3 separate regions of the Homo sapiens genome follow, and all the other regions are linked to region 3. Evidence: promoter capture Hi-C in 16 types of primary human blood cells and fetal thymus (Javierre and others, 2016). All regions are on one chromosome and are shown on one strand. The core of a region is centred on a gene start or on the middle of the fragment in contact, and the rest is flanking DNA. Distances in the headings are between cores, read along the strand shown. Region 1 has its middle 4.9 kb from the start of PYROXD1. Region 2 overlaps RECQL (RecQ like helicase). Region 3 holds the start of LDHB (lactate dehydrogenase B).

Region 1 (2,703 bases), core at 88-2,587, 230 kb before region 3:
CAGTGAATGGAGGAACAAAGACCAATCAGGAACTCATTTTAATAGTCTAAGTGGGCGAAGAAGACCAAAAATAGCGCAGTAACAGTCAAAACTGAAATGAAGGAACTGGGAAACACTTTAGAATTGGTAGGACTTGAGAAACTACACTTTGAAGTTGAGGGAATATGGTGTAAGAAATGCATTCAGTTTTCTAAATGGTATAAGTTTAATATTTATAAAACAAACATGGTATATCATGGGGTTAAATGTGATTTTTCTGGTTAATTCAGCTCCAAAAGCTTAAGAACAGTATAATAGGCGTCAAGTTGACCAATGCCTTCAACGCAAGGTACTAGACCACACAGGCAACGCGTGCTAAAAGACTATAAAATTGGTTTTGCCAGCATTAGTGCATCACATTCACTCCCTGCTCCAACATGCTCACGAAGCATATGGGGAAGAGGAAGGGAAAGTGTTTCACCCCACCACCACCAATGCCCTGTCCGCAGCACAAGTGAGGAGGACGTTAAGGGAACCATTTAGAGAGCTTTACAGGTAGCCCCTGGAGTCCGAATGATGCAGAAACTGATACTTCATTCCACTGAAGACACAGAGGTGTGACTAGGTAGACATTCGGACAGCAGAAAAGAGAGATGCTCTGTTGGCTTGATGTGCACTTTCAGAGTCTAGTGGGGACAAAGGATGAGTGAGTTTCCCAGAAGCCCATTGTGGACCCTGTTTCATCTTAAAAGGGACTGAATCTGGAGAAGGAAAGGCCCAGAACCTGTAGGTGAGAGATCCCCAGTGATGTGGAGATTCTGATGTACCCATAAAAGCACCCCAGCAGAGAATCAACATTTGGAATCAGCCACACCATGAAAACAGCGATGCTAGATTATAACTAATGTTTGTGCCGGCAAATGTTGAACAACTGGCTGTCTGAAAAAACTGCATGTATAAATATATGTGTGTGTGTGTATGTATATATACATAGGTTTATTATAAATTTTATTGAAAGGTGTATAGCAAATATTTTACAAATAATAATATGCAATACTCTTTATTGTAAATTCCATATAGCCAGCTGATTCTACAGAATCCTTTCATTGATTTTTGCTTGTATTACCCAAACTATGACAGCAATTGATGAGTGTAGTTTGAATGTTGATTGACTTTTCTATTTACATTAACTAGTAAGATGGAAGTGAAACAAAGGAACAATAGGTTGCAATTTCACTTGTTTGTCTGATATTAGTGAGTTCTTTGCTAAATTGAATAGCAGCTCTCTGAAAAAAGAATTTCTTCAGTTTTTTTGTGCTATTCACAGTGTACTACAATCTACCACAACAGACATGACACTCTTTTAATTTCATTATTAACATTCTCTCCATCAGTTTTTTTAAATGAGTCTCCATCTATTTTGTGTTTCTTTAACTTTTAAGTTCAGGGGTACATGTACAGGATGTGAAGGTTTGTTACATAGGTAAACATGTGTCATGGGGGGTTTGTTGTACTGATTATTTCATCACCCAGGTATTAAGCCCAGTATCCATTAATTACTTTTCCTGATCCTCTCCCTCCTCCTACCTCCACCCTCAGACAGGCCCAGTGTGTGATGTTTCCCTCTGTGTGTCCATGCTGTTCTCATCATTTAGCTCCCACTTATAAGTGAGAACATACGGTATTTGGTTTTCTGTTCCTGTGTTAGTTTGCTAAGGATAATGGCCTCCAGCTCCATCCATGTCAGTGTAAAGGGCATAATTTGATTCCTTTTTATGGCTGCATAGTATTCCATGGTGTATATGTACCACATTGTCTTTATCCAGTCTATCATTGATGGGCATTTGGGTTGATCCCATGTCTTTGCTATTGTCCACCACCTTTTTAACTCTAAAAAATCAACAATAAAATAAATCAAACTCTGGTTTGTATAATCTGCCATTTTCCATGGTGTAAATACTCCTATTACGGCCAATTTCAAGATCAACATGACGTCGCTGAATGAGGCAGTAGGAAGAAATGTATAGTAGCCCACCATTATATTTTTACCTGTAGATACAATAGATGTAAATAACCTCAAGAGTAGAGATAATAGCAAAAGAGTTAGGAAATAAGAAGTTTTGAATATTTATTACCTTTGTCTTAATATAACTTATTTGATTATGTTTATACAATTTAGTGTTTAACAATAGCTGTGTTAACAATCAGCTCACACAAATCCTAAAATTTTAACAATCAGCTCTCACAGATTCACAGTTGTACCACACCACTGATTCATAGATATAGGAAGACAGCCTGCGGTATGGCAAGAATGACACCACGGCCATGATGACTGATGTTGGATTCCTGCATACTAAGGTGTTCTGCAGCAAGGTCCTTAAACAATGCCCATAGCATAGATAACCCTTCAAAAGAAACAAAGCTTGTAACTTAGATAATTCTCTCATTAAGATTCTTATCTAGACTCCCCAGTGTTCATGAGTTTTGCAAGAAAGTCTGAGACATGATCAGCTGTACATCTTTTATCCTAAAAGCTTACATAATTTCTGGAGGGCAGGTGTGGGGATGCACTGTAACAGAATCATCATTTCTGTGTGTAAGTCCCTATTAAATACCTCTTTCTGAGAAACTGGATTTGTCAGTTTTTCTTTGGCCTCTCAGCTCTCTCAGCCTTTGGGGGTAGGTTTGCATATATATGCTCATACAGGAACAACAGTGAGGCTC
Region 2 (2,750 bases), core at 153-2,652, 180 kb before region 3:
TTTTTGAGACGGAGTCTCGCTGTCACCCAGGTTATAATACCATATTTTTACTGTACTTACTCTATGTTTAGATACACAAATACTTAACCATGTGTTACAGCTGCCTGCAGTATGCAGTACAGTAACACGCTGTACAGATTGGTAGCCTAGGATCAATAGGCTATAACATATCACCTAGGAGACTATACCATCTAGGTTTATGTAAGTACACTTTGATGTTTGCACAATGACAAAATCACCTAGTGATGCATTTCTCAGAACGTATCTCTGTCACTAGGCATTATGACTGTATTAGCCTATAAAGGTTTACAAAACAACAAACTCACCACTGTCTTTACAGCAGTTATCGCACATTTTGTTACATGCTTCTGAGTTCCATACTTCATCAAAATGTTGAGCCATCAACACACGACGACATCTGCAAACACATTTAAAGATACAAATTATTAAAGGATATAATAAAGTTTTAAGAATCTCTATTTCAGCTTACATAGTTATATACTGTATTAGCTTCCTATAACTGCCATAATATTACCATAAACTTAGTGGCTTTAAACACATTTATTCTTACATTTCTGTGGTTTAGATTTAGAAGTGTACTATGGGTTTCACTGGATCAAAATCAGAGTGTCAGGTTCTTCTCACATCACACAATCTAAAATAATCTCCCTATTTTAAGGTCAGCTAATGAACAGTCTTAATTCCATGTGCAATGCTACTTTCCTTTTGCCATGTGAGGTAACATACAGGTTAGGAATTAGGACGTGAACATCTTTGGGGGGCCATTGTGCCCCCGACATAGGACTTTTTTCCCCACATATTCTTGATAAACACTGTTTAAAAAATTGTCTGAGTTCCATTTTTAAATTCAATGTTTTGCAACTATTAGGAGAATATTCTTGACAGTAAAATAGTTTCTTATATTTTAATAAAGTAGCAATATTTGAGTTGAAACCTTAAAATATGCTTCATGAGACTCTACTGGCCTTTGGAAGACATTTTCATTTTCTCATTTCTTTTAACTAGATTATTGTAGTATCTATTGGAAAGAAAGAACATTTCTATCACTGTCTGGCTGCTATTTACCACCTCGACATTTCTGAGCACTTCTTATGTGATAGGCAATAAAAGCACAAAGATAACTATGACAGAAAGCTTTCAGGAAGCTATCTAGTCTAAAGCCACCCTAAGTAGATTTAAACTTACTTCTTAAGGAGAAACTTGGTATTTCATTGACACATGAGCTGGCAAGGTGGCACGTTACTGAGCTTGACTCTCAAAATGCCTATCTTAACCATAGACCTTTTCAAAATTATTAAATCATGTAACTGTACAGCAGTGCCAGAGAAAAAAAGCCTTCAAGTTGCTATCAATGTGTCTCAAAAACCTTCAATTAAAAAAGTAGTTTTGGAGGATTATCTCAAAGATAGGGCATCTTTTCTTGAACTAAGGCAGATCATACAGGTTGATGTGCTGGTTCCTACCCTCCAACATCTGCTTTTATGGATCTGCACTTTGGTGTTCCACCAATGTATTTAGTAAGAACTTAAAAACGATGTCATATACTTTCATATTTGCTTTAATTGATAAAAGTTATAAAAAGGTATGTGGCTTACTTGCTTATGTTTTGACAGTATGATACCATCTCATAAAGCTTCTGCTGTCCCACATTTTCCATCACCACCATTGAACTTATTCTGAATATATCTCCAAAGCCGTAGTACAAAATACAGTCTGCTTTCATGTCATCTCGACCTGTGGTGTGAGAAACCTTGAGATTGCAGAATTACATTTACAAATTCAAAATATGCAAAAATGACATATGGTAAAATTAGCAGGCAATGTTTTATACTACATCTAGAAATTTTAGAGATGTGGAAGTTAATTTGTAATGGGTACCCTCAAATTAAAAAAAACTCTAAAGAGACATCAATAATCAGCTCTACTAAGTTAAAAAATGTGTCTATAATCCAGTTAAGTTATAGATTTGAAATCACTAATTAAAAATTCAGGAGGCAAAGATGAACATCAAATTATCTTAACACACATAAAAAGAAACAATTCAGATAACAGAACATAAGTAAAAATTTCTCCATATGCAAGTAAGTGTCAAACTGCTAAAAATACATTGTTCTAAAAATACTATCCAATAAAGATAAAACATACAGACTTATTAAGCATTTATCATGTATTTTTTGGAAAAGCTTTCTAAAAATTTACTTCTGGATTTGAGTCCTACATACCTGCACGTCCACTCTCTTGGTAATAATTTTCCATGGATTTACTCATTGAATGATGGATAACAAACCTCACATCTGGCTTATCAATTCCCATACCAAATGCAACAGTTGCCACTACTACCTGAAATATTTTAACATTTTATCAGTTAATTAAATCAAGTTTAAATATTTTAAAGGTAAATTAGGCTTCTATGGAAGATATAGACCTAACCTGAATTTCATTGGCTGACCATTTTCTATGAACTGTGGTCTTATCTTCTGGCTCCAAATTGGCATGGTAAGCACCTGCATGAATTCCCAGATTCTGCAAACTAACCGTAACTTGTTCAGAGTCTTTCTGAGAAAAACAATATATGATTCCTGCAGTAAAATATGTGCATTTGTTAGATAGATATGGCATATTCCTGGAAGATGGTTTTCAACACACACATTCAGGACATTGATTAATACAATGCACAGAAGGAAAAAAAGAATTATGAAAAATTTCAAGGCCTTGTGCATATATTGACA
Region 3 (2,700 bases), core at 196-2,695:
GCCTGCATTTTAAACAGGCTCAGAAGAAAGAATGCTGCATCTCTTTTTGAAGGACGACACACATGAATAGTTGTTCTGCACTTAAGTTTATTGTTGTTAGATGGTCTGTTTACGACCGTTTTGGTATACAGGGGGCCCAGGAAGCAGTGGAAAATGAAAATGAAGAAACAGTGGCTATATAAATACAGATTCGTTGTTCTGATAGACCTTTTAATTTAGAAAACTTCAGGAAGTACAATTTAAAGGCTCGAACCAGATTTTCTTTCAGATATTTCTGGAGAAAGTGCTTTTCTTCAATTTTTCCTTAAAAAGAGTTTTAAGAAATGAGAAGAAAATGGTCTGCATGATATACAGGCCTGTGCCAACATCAGAGTGCAGGCTGTAAGGAACAAGAACGACAAACGGTAAAAATCTCTGAGTCTTGGTCCCTTATGTCTCCTCACTGCTGTGGATATAAATCATTAGAAATAAAGGAGCGCCTTAATTTCAGGAACAAAGATCTTCTTTGCAGAATCTTTCTCACCGTAATCTTTTAAAAATTCAGGTTTTGCTTTTGAATTCCTCCCCTCCCCCCATTCCCCAGGCCCTTACTGCAGCTTGTACTGCTCGCGGTGCGCACAAACCATCTTTTCCTCAGGGCACCGGCAGCAAAGAACAGCAGATCACGAGGGCATGCAGAAGCTAGAGATCTCCCCGAGTAAGGTCTGTGGGGACAAGTCTAGGACTTCCTTACTCGGAGCACCCAAGGCTGGTAAAGTAAACGAAGCCCCTAAGCATCCAGAAAAGAGGCCCTGCAGGAAAGAACTGGCGCATGGCTCCTGGAAAGACCGTCAGAGCCGGGTAAAAATAAGTGCAGCGCCAAACGTGCTGGTCATCTAGGTGCCTTTCTCCTCATCCCAGCGAGTGCAAGGGCATTTCTCTATTACCGTGGCAATATATTCAAATATTCGAGGTAAAGATCGTCCAGCCTTCATAGGCCACCTGGTTCCGTCCCCCTCCCCCAGCTACTCGGGCACGTGTCCCGACTCCCGCCAGCAGGCCGTGGGGGTGATGTGGCCGCCATGAACCCACCAAGGACAAGTAGGGCCTGGTTTTAGCTGCAAATGCAACAAGTCTCTCCGCTGAGCCGCAGCTGCTACCCTCTGCCTTCTGCTCCTCCGCCAGGGCACGGCCCCCCCTGCGCCCCAAACTGAGCGGCAAAGTCAGGGCCCGCGGCCGGATGCTCAGAGCTAAAGGCCGCGGAGGACAGATGTGCTTCTTCCTCCTTCCCGCGTCTCCCCATACAAGTACTACCCCGCACGTCCCATCAGGCTTGCCTGTGGGCCAGGATTCAGGGTCCTGAGCCGAAACCTACCAGGAGAGAGAAGGCTCTGGAGACCTCTGTAACAGTCGTGCGGAGAAGACAAAGTCAGCTGCGTGCGTCTCCTCCGGCGCCGGCTCTGCAAGGAGGGAGGAGGGGGCGGGGCCCCACAACCACCGCAGCCTCTTAGGTTTCTCCATTGTGATTGGAAATCCGAGTACCGCCTACCCCTCCCCTCGGCTCGCTCAATCCCCTTCAAGGACAAGGGCTCAAGTATGCACACTCCCTCCCCCACCCTCCAGATGAGGAGGTCTCCTTCCAGAGGCTTCCGCTCTCAGCTGGTCTCACATCTCGCAGGCTCTTCAATGCGGAGGCCAAGTTATTTATAAAACTTGCCCATCCCCGACTCTTCTGGACTTTAACGCTCTTGTTCTATTAGATTTAGTACAAATAGAAATAAATTTCTTTCCTTCTTTTTTTTATTTTGAGACGGAGTCTCACTCTGTCGCCCAGGCTGGAGTGCAGTGGCGCGATCTCGGCTCACTGCAAGCTCCGCCTCCCGGGCTCACGACATTCTCCTGCCTCAGCCTCCCGAGTAGCTGGGACTACAGGCGCCCGCCACCTCGCCCGGCTAATTTTTTGTATTTTTAGTAGAGAGGGGGGTTTCACCGTGTTAGCCAGGATGGTCTCGATCTCCTGACCTCGTGATCCGCCCGCCTCGGCCTCCCAAAGTGCTGGGATTACAGGCCTGAGCCACCGCGCCCGGCCAGAAATAAATTTCTATGTTGCATTTCAGTTAAACTTTAAAGGACTTAAAAAAATACATCTGAATTTAGATCATCTCCGTTTTAAAGTTCATTTGATGAAAATGACTATTTTTTTCAACCTGTTTCAACAAACACGCAATGATTGCTTACTCGTTGCCTGACAAGACCAATGAGGCTTTGTCCCTGCCATCTGAAGTTCCCCTACAATTCCACCTGGTCTCAAGGTCAGGCTTTGCCCTCTAGGGGAAATGTGGGACCACTAAGTGAGATGCACTTTCTTTTTTAGTCCCTAATCGACTCCAAAGCTGGATGTTGTCATTCATTCTGTCTTCAACACTCAGCCAGTGCTTGGTACCTAAATATAGCATTGATGAATAAATGAATGAATGATAAATTGGAGGAATTCTGAAGAGTCTGGCTTCAGTTCTGTTTTCTTATAATTAAAATGCTTTCAAATATAGCCATCTCACAAACTTCCTGTATGTGAAGTGTTTTTTTTTGTAAATGCATATTTCTTGTATATGACCACTAATTCTATAATTATTGCTTCAGTTTATTCTCAGTGCCAAGCATTGGTAAAAAACATAAATATAAGATTATGCCCTTTGAGGTGTTCCTAGTCCATTGGAGACA

What was found. Contacts are between HindIII fragments. The CHiCAGO score rates a contact against its expected background, and 5 or more counts as called.
Region 1: a contact is called between a fragment that was not itself captured here and the fragment with the promoter of LDHB in region 3, in 6 of 17 cell types (fetal thymus, total B cells, non-activated CD4 T cells and 3 more). The highest score is 7.8, in fetal thymus.
Region 2: a fragment that was not itself captured here is called in contact with the fragment with the promoter of LDHB in region 3 in 2 of 17 cell types (fetal thymus and non-activated CD4 T cells); the score reaches 5.6 in fetal thymus.

The regions. Positions count from the first base shown.
Region 1 is chr12:21,431,424-21,434,126 of GRCh38, forward strand. No RefSeq gene overlaps it. Among named protein-coding and RNA genes, the nearest start is that of PYROXD1, 4.9 kb to the right of the region's middle. The HindIII fragment of the contact is 2,123 bases long and covers 277-2,399 here.
Region 2 is chr12:21,473,225-21,475,974 of GRCh38, forward strand. It overlaps RECQL (RecQ like helicase), which reads right to left. Exons shown (of 15, transcript NM_002907.4): 9 at 2,452-2,600; 10 at 2,244-2,361; 11 at 1,617-1,755; 12 at 327-418. Among named protein-coding and RNA genes, the nearest start is that of RECQL, 27 kb to the right of the region's middle. The HindIII fragment of the contact is 499 bases long and covers 1,154-1,652 here.
Region 3 is chr12:21,656,397-21,659,096 of GRCh38, forward strand. It overlaps LDHB (lactate dehydrogenase B), which reads right to left and starts at 1,446. Exons shown (of 8, transcript NM_002300.8): 1 at 1,355-1,446. RefSeq lists enhancers at 998-1,087, 1,118-1,367, 1,345-1,873, 1,748-1,927. The HindIII fragment of the contact is 8,571 bases long and covers 1-2,700 here.